Linked DNA regions of Homo sapiens: region 2 is linked to region 1. Evidence: promoter capture Hi-C in 16 types of primary human blood cells and fetal thymus (Javierre and others, 2016). All regions are on one chromosome and are shown on one strand. The core of a region is centred on a gene start or on the middle of the fragment in contact, and the rest is flanking DNA. Distances in the headings are between cores, read along the strand shown. Region 1 holds the start of FCRL4 (Fc receptor like 4). Region 2 overlaps FCRL1 (Fc receptor like 1).

Evidence for each region. Contacts are between HindIII fragments. The CHiCAGO score rates a contact against its expected background, and 5 or more counts as called.
Region 2: a fragment that was not itself captured here is called in contact with the fragment with the promoter of FCRL4 in region 1 in 1 of 17 cell types (total B cells); the score reaches 5.3 in total B cells.

What each region holds. Positions count from the first base shown.
Region 1 is chr1:157,594,747-157,602,647 of GRCh38, reverse strand. It overlaps FCRL4 (Fc receptor like 4), which reads left to right and starts at 4,563. Exons shown (of 12, transcript NM_031282.3): 1 at 4,563-4,734; 2 at 6,300-6,320. The coding sequence starts at 4,704. The HindIII fragment of the contact is 1,174 bases long and covers 3,423-4,596 here.
Region 2 is chr1:157,804,105-157,812,005 of GRCh38, reverse strand. It overlaps FCRL1 (Fc receptor like 1), which reads left to right. Exons shown (of 11, transcript NM_052938.5): 2 at 4,884-4,904; 3 at 7,895-7,901. Among named protein-coding and RNA genes, the nearest start is that of FCRL1, 12 kb to the left of the region's middle. RefSeq lists enhancers at 5,297-5,346, 5,377-5,436. The HindIII fragment of the contact is 1,141 bases long and covers 2,860-4,000 here.

The DNA.
Region 1 (7,901 bases), core at 3,314-5,813:
ACCAAATATAGCTAAATGTTAATAACTGATAACTCTCAGTGAAGAGCAGGTAAGTATTTATTGTACTATTCTTGCCATTTTTTTGAAAGGTTTAAAATTTTTTGAAATAAAAATATTGGGGAAATGAAAGTTTTCTTGTTAACGTCTCCAAGTAACAAAATGGATTTGCCTTCAGCTACATAGCTTGTAAGTGATGAAGCAAAACCATAGCCAGGCCTTAGAGTTCAAATCTGGTGTCCATTTCACACCCTCTACTACATAACTGTGGATCTGTGAATCTGGAATAGAGGGCACTAACAACCTGCGATTCTGTTCTCACTTTGGACAAGTTTTTGAGCAAAAAGATCTGTATGTTCATGAAGATAGAAGAGTCTCGACTTAGAACAAGAAATCATCTCGGAAACGTCTCTAAAACAAAAGGAGATTATATTTTACCACTGAAGGCTAGAAATATTATTATCTGTAGTCATGGAAAATAAAATGCGGCTTCTAGATGGCACCAGCCTACAAATAAATGTAATTGAGCTTCTTCACTGCCTTTTCTTTGAAGTTCAAAGTTGATTACTCCAAGCGGCTGTTCCTCCATTACTAACAAATGGCTATAGAAATCATTACGTATACAGCCACTGATTTGGGAGAAGAGTCTTTTAATAGCAAGAACAACAAATTTATCTTTCCAGTATTTTTCCCACCCATAAAGCACTGACAAGACCACAGACTCCCTGTCACATAGTTAAAAATGTATGATTCTCCCGTAGTAGTAAAGACCATACTCAGCACTCAGATCTTGGTTTCTAAATATCAGTCTCTACTGAAAGGAATTGGGGCTCCTTGAAGAAGTGGCTGATTCTAGAGTTGGGGCAGGAAAATGTAAGATGAGCCAGGAGCATCTCGTAGTGCCAGACAGTACAGAAATGTTCCAACAAGGAAAATGATGAGAGTTTCTCAAAGGCACAAAGAAGAAGCTGACCTGAAAGAGCTCCCAATCACCAAAGCTGGATCAATTTGAGCAACAAAATATATAAAGCATTATATTGTTACCAAAGTTTAAAGTAAATATACAAATCTATAGTGATATAAATAAATGATTGAATGGATGAATACATGAATAAGTAAATAAGAACAAGGAGACAAATCCCCCTACCTCACCTCTCACCCTGACTGTGGGCTGGACTTGCTCCCAAACGAAAGAATATAGAAAAAGACAAACAGTAATTTTACATCGAAGAAACCTGGCAAACACTACCTTAACCAAGTGATCACAATTTACATTACCAGTGATAAGTCATGTTGAGATTCCATACCCCCAATGTGATGAGAAGGACACTCTACCGCTGTAGTATTCTTTGTGAAAACTCATAACCCCAGTTTAATTATGACCAAAACGTCAGACAAACCCAGATTGAAAGACGCCGCAAACTACCTAGCCAGTACTCCTCAAAACTGTCAAGGTCATGAAAAACAAGGAAACACTGAGAAACTCACAGATGGAGAAGAGACGTCTGTGAGCAAAGATAGCTAAATGTAATGTAGTATCTTAGAGGGGATACTAGAAGAGGAAAAAGGTGTCAATGGAAAACTGAAACAAGCTGGATAAAGCCTGTAATTAATAGTAATGTAGAGACGGAGCAAAGATAACTAAATGTAATGTAGTATCTTAGAAGGGATACTAGAAGAGGAAAAAGGTATCAATGGAAAAACTGAAAAAAGCTGGATAAAGCCTGTAATTAATAGTAATGTAGAGACGGAGCAAAGATAACTAAATGTAATGTAGTATCTTAGAAGGGATACTAGAAGAGGAAAAAGGTATCAATGGAAAAACTGAAAAAAGCTGGATAAAGCCTGTAATTAATAGTAATGTAGCAATCTTGGTTTCTTAGTTTTGATAAATGCACCCCCATGATGTGAAATGATAACGGTAGGGGAAATTGAAACAGGTGAGGGCTTCCTATATGGGAACTCTTTGTATTATCCTTACTATTTTATATAAATCTAGAATTACCCCAAAATGAAAATTTATTTTTTAAACTGTAAAGGTTTAAATGTTTTTCAAAAAAAAATTAGAAAAGTTTAAAAATTTCAGTTTCTTACATTCTCATTGAAAACAATTATTTTTGTCCTTTGTTAATATAAAATCTAAAAGTTCCTGGTTAGTCAAGCAATTGCTTAATAAATCATGGTATATGTACTTCCTGGCTGATGTTTCAAAGTACTAACCACACTTCTGGCACCAATAACTAAAATATTTCTGTCAGTGACTTAAATACCACAACAAAAATAGTACTTGACTGACGTAAACTTAAACATTTACACAGTAGTTGTAAATAAATATGATTTTTGTGTTTGGACATCTTGTATAACATCATAAATGTGAAATTTTATTTTGCTAATTGAAATCTATTCATTCAGCAAAACTTATGGTAGAAACAAGAAAACAGGCAATATGATTTCAACTTCCCTCAATCCTTAGTCAGTCAATAAATATTGGAGTTCTAAACTCATGCTAAATACTATTTTCCAGTGTTATAAGGAATACAAAAATGTTGGTAGGATATTATGTCAATTATAAAGTGCTTTTTAGTTCATTATACTTGTTACTTCTAGTATTACAGAATAGTTCTCAGCATAGGGACTAAGCTGAGAGTTCTATGTCATTAATGTATTCATACAAACATCAATAACAACATCCACTTCAGCTGGACATTATTTTTATCTCCTTTTTACCAGTGTGAAAGAGGCTAAGTACTTGACCAGAGTCACCCAACTAGCAAGAGGTGAAGTCAAGATTTCATCCAGATGTGTGGGATTCTGCAGATCAGGTTCTTGACTGCCATTTTATACCCTTGCTCCTCCTGGGACAAATGAAGGCAGCTGAAAGATGACAGCACGGTCACACGGCAAGGAGACAAAGGACCCATGTGCCGCCTTGACAGCTCTATGTCTTTATGGTTCCTTGTGTCTATGTCTACTCTGGCCCTTACCACATTGACTTTTTTAAAGTCTTTAAGAGAGATGCACTTTATTCACCTTTTTATTCTTCTAAGGCCATGGACATTGTCTAAAATATAGTTGATGTTCAATACAAACCCTAGTTAGAAAATAAATTATTACAGATATATAGAAAAACATTATATTAGAAAAATACAGACCACTCTTAATCCATCCTATGTCTATTATCTATTCACAGATATCTTGATGTGATGGTGATGGTCACGATAACTGCCTTCCATCTTAGTGCATGCTCATCTCTCAGTCCTAGAATGATATTCTTTCAGCTTGGATGTTACTTCCTCAGGGAAGCCTCTTATGCATCCCCAGAACTGGGTCAGATTTCCCTCTTAGTGGACTCTCAGAAATTACATACAATTCACTTCTATGTAATTTCCTGTTGACTTGCTGTCTTCTCCACCAGAATGAAAGCTTTCCAAGTCTTGATTAACACTGTACTTCCAGCACCTGGCACCATACCTGAAGCACCATGGTGTTTCTTTTTTTTTGCCATTAACATTTTATATATATATATATATATATATATATATATATATATATATATACACATACATATACACAAGATAATAGCATAAAAAAGTTTTAAAGAGTTATACATACCAAAATATTATACGTACCAAAAAACGTCACTACGGATTTTTCCATTTTTTTCTTAATTTTTTTTTTAAGTTCTGGGATACATGAGCAGAGTGTGCAGGTTTGTTATGGGTAGGGAGAGCATTAGGTGTTTCTCAAAACACCAAACAGCATGTTGCCCAGTGTGAAAGAATCCAAATGGCAAAAATCAAAATTTAATAGAATTATTTAAATACCCACTCTGACTTCCTGACGTGAATCGCTTCTCAAGGCTAAAGCCATCATATTTTCAGAACTCTCTAGCCTCTTGTCTTTCAAGGAAATCACAACTTCTTCTCTCTGCCACCAGATACCAGGCATATGTATTTCAATCAATATATATTTGCCAAGACATTCCTGTAGCAAATTTTGGATTCTAGGACATTAAGTAAAAATGTTATGGCCTATTATCTAGGAAGAGCATGATGGGGCTATAATTTACTCCTCAGCTTGCCTTCTACTCAGATCAAAAGTTGTGGTTTCCCCCTGGACTGATGAGTCAGGATATTTTCATATATATCAGACAAGGTGAGAGTTGTCTTGTGATTGAGATGTTTCATCAGGTCTACAGACGGCCTGCTGGAGGTGTTCCAGTAGAGGTATCAGCGGTCAGAGGAGGCCTTTTCTGTGTTGAATGAGAAATTCTTCATCTCTGGGGATATTCAGGGACATCCTTAGATTATGTGGATTTCAATAGGCCTGCAATCTCACCTCATCTCTAGTAGCAGAGAGAATAGGTTGTGATTTCCTTGAAAGACAGAGCCTAGAGAGTTCTGAAACTAGAGTAGCTTTAGCCTTGAGAAGTGATTCACCCCAGGATGTCACAGCAGTACTTAATTCTATTAAATTTTGATTTTTGTGGTCTGGATTCTCTCACACTGGTCCACATTGCTGTTTGGTGTTTTCAGAAAGATTCCTCTACTTCCCCCTTTCACTTCATTATCTCAATCAGCTTTATGCAGAGAAGAAGCTTACTGAGCTCACTGCTGGTGCTGGTGTAGGCAAGTGCTGCTTTGGCAATCTGGGCTGACCTGGCTTGTCTCCTCAGAACTCCTTCTCCAATCCTGGAGCAGGCTTCCATGCTGCTGTGGGCGTCCTTGCTGGCCTTTGGTAAGTGATGGGGAGGAGACCTTTGCTTGCTGCAAAGCTGAGCCTCACCATGAGCAAAAGCCCTCTTTTCTGCTGCTGCAATCATGGATTTTTACTCCCATTTTAGAACAGCAGAAAATGAACAAAAAGGAAAGATAATGATTTACTGGTAGAAGGGGAAAATGATAATAATTGATTTCCAAAGATGTATTTCTCATCTATTTTTGCTATGAATTGCCTATGGAAAATCATTTTACCCCCAAATGGACTTATTTTGTTTATGCAAAAAGAAACCTATGGCTAGGTTCAGTCCCTACGTCACAGAGCATGAGGACCCAGAGGAAAAGATGGACTGAGTTATTTGTGAAGGATAAAGTCCTGATTGTGAACTCAGGTAGAAAGGATCACCTGCTGAGAATAGTTATTTCCTTCTCTGTATTCTAAGTTCAAACCTGTTCTGATGTTTGCAAAGAGCATGAGAAGAGAAGAGATAAGATGATTTCCCTTTGATTTTTTTCTTCCTGCTTTTGTACCACTTGTCAGTGTTTGTCCAAATGAGGCACGGATTTCCTAGTTGCTCAAACTAGGGAATTAAAGAACAGTCAGTCTTTTGTTCATTAAATATTTATTAAGCGTATTTGTCTAGTTCCCACCTGATCCCCAGACCCCAACTAAGGGAAGACCTATTAGTGTGATTGGCACATGATAGGAACTAAGGAGTGAGTGGATGGGTATACTTGGCATGCCACACTGCTGGGCACCACAGAGGATGCAGAGACCTGAAGGACACAGATTCTGCCCTCAAGAGGTGACATTCTCAATAGAACCTCAACGTACACATGCAAGAACATCTGACTCGACAATATGAGAAAAATATTACACAAATAGTTACAGGATAATGTGTGAGGATGTCAGTTAATTTGTGCTAAGCCCTGGCTACATCCCACTTTTCTAAGGGCACCCCATGTATAAATGTATCCAATTCTCTAACATTTGATCAGGTGGAACTTTTATAACTCCCATTTACAAATGAGGAAATGAAGGCACAAAGATGTTGGTCTTGTCCCTGAGGTTTATGCAGCTAGTACAGTGGCAGAGTCAGGATTCGAACCCATAATCTAACTTTGGAAACTAGGCTTTTAACTACTACCCTCTACTGTCTGTCTCATTTTGAGTTCCAAATTAGCTATGATAATAAGTGTTCTGAGTCAAGAGAAGAGGAATCAGCAGCAGCCCCATACTAAAAAATTAATGACAGCAGCCATTAATTGAAACCTTACTGATCTAACTCATTACAGTATTACTATGAGGTCGCTTTCATGAGCCTCATTTTTCAAATGAGAAAACTGAGACTTGAAAGTTCATGTGGTTTGCCCTGGGTCATACAGCTAAAATTCAAACCAGACTGTCTGAGTCCACAGCCTGAGCGTCTGGCCACTGTGTTTCCCCGCTTCCCTGGGATGGATGGAATGGAACGTGTTTCTCTTCCTCTTGGTTGGAAGTAGCATATGAGTGTATGGGCTCTCAGGGTGAATAGTTCGGGACTCTTCGCCTACGCTGATGGCTGGCTCTTTACTCTCTTTCAGCTCCAGTCTGTGGACAATCTGGTAAGTCCTTATTTTCTTTGCTCCTTTATGTCTCTAGATACCCTAATAACTATATTTTATCTCAAATACTTACAAGAGTCCCTGTTGTCCATTTCATCCTTTTCCTGAGTGCTGCAGGGATGTAGAGACATCAGCTCGTGTGGTGACTCTGACCCTAAGAACCAGGCTATTTGGGGGTGACTCTCTTAAACCAAAACTGCCATTGTGCTGGCTAAACATGGCAGGGCCTGGGATATGTGTCACAGCGTCCACAGGAAGAGGAGCTGTCACCCCGCCTGATGTGGGATTCTAGCCAAGCCTGATGGAATGCATAGCATCCCAAGAGGAAAAGGGTAGAAATAAGCCAATACTTCAGAGGGGGAGGCTGGGGCTCCAGCAGCTTTTCCACTAACCATGTGTAACAAATTTATCCCCAACTTCTGCATCCCATGGAGACACACTTCTCTGTTAATAGCTCAAATTATGATGACTCTGAGTCTCCATCTATCCTACTGGTCAGCAAAAAGTCCCATCCTCTATAGGCAGCTGCCTCACAGGTGTTTTGGCCATTCCTATAGAGCACCCTAGGAGCTGCTGGAGCCAGCAAGGGCCTTGGCCCCCTTGAGGTGCACTGTCTCTTGCAGCTCCTAACTCTGCTGTTCTTCCCCTCCTCGGTGCCTTGGACACAGACTATTTCCCACACACCCTTCCTGAGACAAGATTATAACTTGGCAGACTTTGCTAATGGTTCTAGAATGGGGAAATGAAATACAAAAAGTGCCTTGAATTAACTGCAGCTAGGGATGTGGTTAACCTCAGAGCCCATCAACTCAGTCTCAAACACACGAAGGCCATGAAAAGTTATGTCCCTTCCTGGCCATAGGGCCACCTGCACATAGCAGGGGCAGCTTCCTCAGAGCAAAGAAGAGTCTAGTTGCATACATCAAAGGAAATCAACTCTCCTTCCCTCCAGTAGAAGACCTATTGCCTAAGTCCCAATGGCCCTGCATCCAGGTGCTTCCCAGGAATATAGCTGGTAGGGTTTTCTATTCTCTTCAGCAGAAACACAGCCCCATTCCCACTGATGACATAGAGTATTCTGTCCAAACCTTTAAAGACAGAATTTTCTTTTTAAAAAGTGTCTGCAGAGGCTGGGCACAGTGGCTCATGCCTGTAATCCCAGCACTTCGGGAGGCTGAGGTGGGTGGATCACTTGACGTCAGGAGCTCAAGACCAGCCTGGACAACATGGTGAAACCTCATCTCTACTGAAAATACAAAAAATTAGCCGGTTGTGGTGGCACATGCCTGTAATCCCAGTTACTCAGGAGGCTGGGGCAGGAGAATCACTTGAACCCAGGAGGTGGAGGTTGCAATGAGCTGAGATCAGGCCACTGCAGTCCAGCCTGGGCAAGAGTAAGACTCTATCTGAAAAATAAAATAAAATAAATTCTGCAGAGACACAGAGATGTTTCACCTTACCAAACAGAACATTTAGCTTCTTCATGTAAAACATGCAGTTGGGTTATTTTACAATTTTCTTTTTCCCCTCAAACAGAGGAAGGGCATTTTCTTCACATTTAGATGTAACTAAAAGATCTAT
Region 2 (7,901 bases), core at 2,181-4,680, 210 kb before region 1:
TGGTCTTCTGGATAAGGCTTGACTTCTCCACTGGGCAGGACAGCCTGTTCCTTGGCAGGGCAGAGTGTCATGTGGACTCAAGTGACAGGATCACAGCTGTCCCCCTGAGCCTAGGTTTTGAGTCCCTGGGGTTGGGGCACTGAAGCCACTAGGATGGAGAAAATGGAGTGATTCCTAGACAGCTTGTTCCCATGGATTAGGAAGCAGGGAAGCTTGGCTAGCAAATGGTGTACTACTGTGTGTAAGCATGATGCAAGGATGGTGAAGCCTCAAGGATGAAAAGATGCAGTGACTACTGCCCCCAGGAACAGAACACACTCTAGTAGTTGCTCTAGTTTCAAGATGGTGCTGTGCAGTAGTAGCTTGGGTCATGGGATGGGAGGAGCCACAGTATGGGCTCTTACTCTAGAATAATGCAGCCATATGAACTCCAGGCAGCTTCCAAAACTGGACTTAGGTCCTGTGAGAACTGCAGGATTCTCCAGCAACAAAGACTGCTGGTGTCCACAGATATAATGGGGGCTTCTGGGGACTTCTTTACCTTTTGTTTTCAGGGAAAAGCCCCTCCTAGGCTTGAATCCCAGCCTGCATTCCAAGCTGATCCTGACTGAGGAGACAGAGTTGCAGAGGCAGGTTGCAGGGTTCCATTCCCTTCTTTATGTAGCCATCCTGAGTTTCTGTGATCCACAAGATTTCTGCCATTCCCCTGCTGTACTTCAGTGCTCTCCTTTAGACACTCCAGTCAAAATGTAGTTGTTTCCTTATTGTTTCAGTCTTTTTTTAGGCGGGGAGGAGGATGAGTAATAGACACCTCTAGTCAGCCATCTTGCCGACATCACCGACAATGTCTTTTCTCTTAAAATAATAGAAATATGGCTTCCATTTACTACACAAGTTTTCTGTTTCCCTTTATAAAGTTTTCAGTGCACCAGGTGTGGTGGCTCATGCTATAATCTCAGCACTTTGGGAGGTTGAGGCGGGAGGATCGCTTGACATCAGGTGTTTCAGACCAGCCTGGGCAACATAGCAAAATCTTGTCTCTACAAAAAATAAAAAATAAATAATTATCCTGGCATTGTGGCACATGCCTGTAGTCCCAGCTACTTGGGAGGCTGAGGTAAGAGGATCACTTGAGCCCAGGAGGTTAAGGCTGCAGTGATCTGACCTCCAGCCTGGGTGACAGAGCAAGATCCTGTCTCAAAAAAGTAAAATAAAACAAAAAGTTTTCAGTGAATTGCTGTCTTTGCTTCACTTCCTTTCATTCTTTATTTAATATTTATTTTTAATTTACATTACATTAAGATTTACTTTTTTGAAAGACTGTCTATAATTTTTGACAAAGATTTAGATCCATATAACCACCAGCAGAATCAAAATACAGGACATTTTCATCCCTTCAAAAATTTCCCGGCTGGGTGCAGTGGCTCACGACTGTAATCCCAGCACTTGGGGAGGCCGAGGTGGGTGGATCACCTGAGGTCAGGAGTATAAGACCAGCCTGGCCAACATGGTGAAACCCCATCTCTACTAAAAATACAAAAATTAGCCAGGCGAGGTGGTGCAAGCCTGTAGTCCTAGCTACTCAGGAGGCTGAGGCAGGAGAATTGCATGAACTTGTGAGGTAGAGGTTGCAATGAGCCAAGATCATGCCACTGCATTCCAGCCTGGGTGGCAGAAAGAGACTCTGTCTTAAAAAAAAAAAAAAGAAAAAAGAAAAAGAAATTTACTTATGCCCTCACTCCCTTTTATGGTCAAATCTTCTCCCATTCCTAACCCCTGGTAAACTCATTTAAGTCCTTACACTTCTTCCTCATTCTTCCTTGAACCCACTTAAATCAATCTTTCATCCTTACCACTCCATTGAAACTGTTCTTGCACATAGCATCAACCATCTTCATGTTGCTGCATCAAGGGGTCAATTTTAATTTTTTATTTTACTCAATTTCTCAGGGGCATTTGATCACTCTTTATTTTTTGAAACACTTTTAATTTGGCTTCTGGAATATCATATTCTGCTGGCTTTCTTTCTAATTCAGTATCTGCTACTTTTCAGTTTCTTTGCTAAATTATTTAATTTTTTTAGAGTCAGGGTCTTACTCTGTTGCCCCAGCTGAAGTGCAGTGGTATGGTCATGGCTCATTGCAACCTTGAATTCCTGGTCTCAAGTGATGCACCTGCCTCAGCTCCCTGAGTAGCTGGAACCAGAGACACATGCAACCACACTCAGCTAATTAAAACAATTTTTTGACCAGGTATGGTGGCTCATGTCTGTAATCCCAGGACTTTGGGAGGCCAAGGTGGGTGGATCACCTGAGGTCAGGAGTTCAGACCAAGCTGACCAACATGATGAAACCCAGTCTCTACTAAAGAAAAAAAAAATACAAAATTAGCTGGGTGTGGTGGCTGGCACATGCCTGTAATCCCAGCTACTTAGGAGGCTGAGGCAGGAGAATCGCTTGAACCCGAGAGGTGGAGGATGCAGTGAGCCAAGATTGTGCCATTGCACTCTAGTTTGGGCAAGAAGAGTGAAACTCCATCTCCCCCAAATCATTTGTGGTTTTTTTTGTTTGTTTTTGTTTTTGTTTTTGTTTTTTACAAACAGGGTTTTTTTTTAAATTAATTAATTTATTTTTTGCCACCCAGGCTTATCTCAAACTTCTGGCCCCCATCAATCCTCCCACCTCAGCCTTCCAAAGTGTTGGGATTACAGTCATAAGCCACTGCATCTGGCTTGGATCTTTTGCTGACCTCAAAATGTTGGACATCCTCAAAGTTGATACCTAGACTTCATCCATACTCACTTCCCCAAATTATATAATTATGTCACTTCATGTGCCACTTTAAGCTTAAATGCAAGCTTATTTCTCCAGCTTTCACCTCTCTTTTAAATACCTCTTATGTACTTAACTGCATTCGGGTATCTAATAGACATCTTAATAAACATCTTAAACTTAACATCAGGTGTTTAACAGGCATCTTAAACTCAAACAGATCTCTTGATCTTCCACCTGTACTACCACCACCACAAAACTTAACCTATTTTCCCCCACAACTTCTCCAATTCAGGAAATGTCACTACCATTCTTCCAGTTGCTGTGGCCAAAAATCTAAGAGTCATACTTAATTCCCCTCTCTCTCCTTTTGCACTTTCTATTTAATCCATAAGCAATTCCTATTAATTCTACTTTCAGAATTTATACTAAAGTCTGACCACTTCATATCACCAGCACTGTCTAATCTTAGCCACTATCTTTACTCTCCTACACTAAATTCCCACTAACGTTCTCCCTGCTTTTCTTTCACTTCTATACTGCTTTCCTCACAGTGTCTGAGTGATATTGTAAATTAAGTAAGAATTGTCCATAGCTCCCCATCACACCTAGAATGAAATCCAAAACTATTGCCAAGTCCATAAAGTGCCCATGACTGGATCCTTCCTATTTCTCAGACACCGATAACTAACCCCTGCCCCCTTACTTGGTCAGCTCCAGGTGCCCTTGCCTTCTCATTCCTCCTTGTACAAGCGTATTTCCTCCTCAGGATACTTGCATTCGATGTTTTCTCTGCCAGGGATGCTCTTTCCCAAATATTCAGAAGGCTTGTTTCCTGATTTCATTTAGGTTTTTACTGAATCTATCTAAATCTATCTAAACAGTTAAGACCATCTTAAGATGCTCTGTATCTTATTTCTCTGCTTTATTTTTCTTAGAGAACCAATCACCCTCTGAAAGAATATTATATACTTATTTTTAAATTGGCTCTCTACCACTATAATATGAATTTCTTGACATCAAAGATTGTCATTCATGTTTACTCCCATCACTCCAGGGCCATGCACAACGTCTGGCATACAGTGAGCACTTCAAATTATTTGCTGTATGGACAAGTGTATGGAATATGATTTTATGCTCTCTCCTATTGACACTTTTCTCCTACCTAAGGAACTAATTATTCAAGTAAACATTTAACCTAAGAAAAAGTAAGTATCTCAAACCAAGCTTGGCTAAAATAAATAATAGTAATGACACAATATTTACTGAATAAGTAAATTCCAGGCACTAGTCTAAGCTCCTTAATCTTCACAAAAACTCTGTGAGGTAGGTACCACAATTATCTACACTTTACCGACAAGGAAACTAAAGCACAGAGAGGTGAAACATTTCTCCCACAGTCACACAGCTTGTAAGAGGAAGAGCCAGTACTCAAATCTGTGTCATCCAGCTACAAAGCCTCCATTTTCCCCAGAATTATTTTTTCTTGATCATTGAGCCATAATATTATGGTCAAGTCCTTGGGATAGAAGAGAATTTTTGGAGAAATTTGAATTCCTTTTCTGGACCTAAGCCTCCTCTGATCTGAAATTGGTAAACAAAGGGTCTCTATGCCTTGAGTATGAGGCTGTGCACTCTCCTTGCCTGACTCTGTTGTTCCCTTGAGAGAGTCAATCCAAAGCTGGATCCTCAAGACTTTTGAAAGGAGGCGGTGGGAATGGGAATGAGGAGCTTGAAGAAGGAGCTGCTAAGTAGTTAGCAAAGATGCCACCTCCTAGTCACAGACAACACAAGTCATTGGCAATTACTTTGTGATCATAAAAAAGAACGATGTGTTGTTCTGTGGGCAGGTGCTCTGTGGGTGATGCAGAATATGGGAAAAGGAGCAGAGAGAAAGAAGAAAAGAAGCAGGGGTAAGATAAGGAGGGAGGAAGAGAAGATGAAAGAAGGAAGGGGAGAAGAGAGAAAGAGGGAAAGAGGGAGGAAGAGAGAGATGCAGGGAGGGTCCAGGGGATGGAGGGTGTGGTGTTGGGGAAGCTCTCAAAGGATTTAAACTTTGGAGATTTGTGGGATTTGCTGCTCTGTACTGATCTCTGCTGAATTCTCTCCCAGCTCCACTCTGTGAACCTGCCGGTGAGTTGCACTTCCTTTTCTTCTTCAAGGTCTGTGGGTATTTTGTTACTTAGGTCAGCACAGGAGGCCTGCAGATTGCTGTCTTAGCAGCCCCTTCCTGCCCAAAACATATCAGGGTGACAGCTGCTGAGGTGTACAAACATCAGTGGCTCCCTTGGGCCTGGGCTGCTCTGTCTTCACATCAGTCTCTGCACCTGACACGTGTCTGCTCAGTGGGGTGAACAGGTCTTGCTCTGACCTTCTCAAGAACACAGTCTTACTTCCGGGAAGTCCCAGCACAGGGAGGGAGACACTGTTTGCACAAGGAAGGCAAAGGGTGCTGAAGATTCATGCTAGAAGCATCTCTGTCCTCCCAGCCTCAGGAGCTCCAATTCCCAGTTGTGCTTCTCAGCTGGGTGTGTCACCATGGGTGATGAAGGAAATGCCAAAATCACACATCCACGGAGAACATTAGAGAGAATCCTCCAGACATGTGTGGAATGAAGTAGTACTGCTGCCTCCTTCCTATTTTTAGCTCTCCTCTGCAGCCACACCTGTTACCCCAGCTCATTTTCTCTTTCGGACTCTGGTTTATGCAAACTTACTTCATTGCACTGGTCCTGATTCAAAGTCTTACCTTTACCAAAGAAGGAGAGTAAGCAATCCCTTTCCCCACGAAGGACTCTTCACTAGATCAAGCTCAATGATAAAATGTAAAAATTGCTATCTTGTGCAGAAAATACTAGCCACAGAGTTAAAAGAGATTGTCCTGCCACCTCAAGAACATCGGCTGCAAGTGCAAGTAGGGAACACAAGTTCCCAAGTTCCCTAGGAATTCCTGTGACCAGAAAGATTCAGAGAGATTCAGGGTCAATCTAGCCTTCTAGGTTCCTTATCTAATGTTTGTCCAAGTATAACTGATGACTTGTGTTAACACCATGCATGCCTTGTGTCTGGTCTCATCTTTACCCCTAAACCCAAGTGCCCAATCTCAGCCTAAGCAGAAATCCAAAGCCATATCAAAGATGAAGAAACCAAGTTTCTGTCACCAGGTATTTTCCAGATAGTCTCTGCTATCTAAGAATTATCTGAAACAAGCTCTGAGCTGTAAGACTGAGCTCCAGACCCTTGCAATCCACCCTGTCCAGTTTCCCACTTCATTACCACCCTAGCCCCATTGAGAATAGTGGGTTACAGATGCCCAAATGCTAAATGCCTTTCTTTTTTGAGACAGAGTCTCACTCTGTTGCCCAGGCTGGAGTGCAGTGGTGTGATCTCAGCTCACTGCTACCTCTGCCTCCTGGGTTCAAGTTATTCTCCTGCCTCAGCCTCTGGAGTAGCTGGGGACTACAAACTCATGCCACCACGCCTGGCTAATTTTTGTGTTTTTAGTAGAGAGAAGTTTTGCCGTGTTGGCCAGGCTGGTTTTGAACTCCTGACCTCAGGTGATCCACCAGGCTCGGCCTCCCAAAGTATTGGGATCACAGCCGTGAGCCACCACACCTGGCCTAAATGCCTTTTTATTTATTGCCCTGCCTAGCTCCAAGAGCTGTGCTACTGGTCAGTCTTCTGGGGACCACAGTTTTCCAAGGAAAGACAGTGACTCTAAGATATTCCATGCCTCAGGACAAAGCAAATATTCTGGTACTATGGATGGAACTGATGTTTAAAAGTTTCCAAAAACAAAAAAACACATTTCAGCCGAAAAGCTGAATTCCTAGTAATTCACCCTTTAGTAATCCAAAGCAATTGTCATTTTCATCTGGTAAGGAAAGAATAAAGTTTTGTCTTAGGGAAAGTATAATATTTTTCAAGGGGCAGAGGCTCTGAGGGTTGGATAAACAAATGCCCACACAGCCCATAGCTATTAGGGGTTGTGACATTTTTATGGGCTGCTGCAAGTTGGGGAGACGAGGAGAGAGCAGAGCACAATTTTATCATCTTATCACCAGAAAAGAGCCCCAGGCCGGGAGTGGTGGCTCACACCTGTACTCAGTACCTTGGGATGCCAAGGCAGTAGGATCACTTCAGCCCAGGAGTTCAAGACTAGCCTGAGCAACATCATAAAATCTTATCTCTACAAAAAATAAATAAAATTAGCTGGGCTTGGTGGCATGTGCCTGTAGTCCCAGCTACTTGAGAGGCTGAGGTGGGATGACTGCTTGAGCCCAGGAGGTTGAGGTTGCAGTGAGCTGAGATCGCATCACTGAACTCAAGCCTGAGAGTCAGAACATGACCCTGTCTCAAAAAGGAAAAAAAAAAAAAGAAAAAGAAAAGAGCCCCTAACACCCCAAAGGGACACATCCCTGAGAATTAAGATATGAATTAAATTAGCTCTTTAGATCATGGTTTCTACAGAGGTTTGTAAAGAAGCTGTGTGGATGGTGGGTACTGGGCATTTCCAAGCAAATACACCCCATTTCTTCTAATAGAAATAGCAATAATAGGGGGAGGACAGAGTCAGCAATGAGGGGATTGGGTTCTTCTACGTCTTTCCTGGACAGATCGACCCTGCAGGTCCCATATTCTGTCTTTGAAAAAGATAGTGTGGTTGTGGTTCTGAGATGCCAGGGGAAAGGGAACAGAAGAAGATAATGAACATAGCTTAGAAGGATAAAAGAAGCATATTCACTTTGAATAAAACTTCAAGCTTCATCATCTCCAATGCCGACTCCAGTAACAGTCTTCAGTATTATTGTACTGGCTTCAAGAAAGGTGTTTTTAGTTTATGGATAGAAACTTCAAAAAATAATAAGATCCAAGTCAAAGGTAAGAGTTACTTTCTGAAAGATAATACTGCACAGGGGCAGGATGTACCAGGGGTGAGCAGGGTGAGTTCATGGCAAAGGAAAGCCCATGGGCCACTGGGGGGGGGGTGGAGACATGTAGGGTGGCCTGTGTGTCCAACTGGCTGTTTCTTTGAGTCTTGTTGGCAAGTGCTGAGACACAAACTGCCTCTTACCAGAAATTCCGAACCGCATTAATCATTTGTGTTTAATTCCTCTCTCTAGAGCTGTT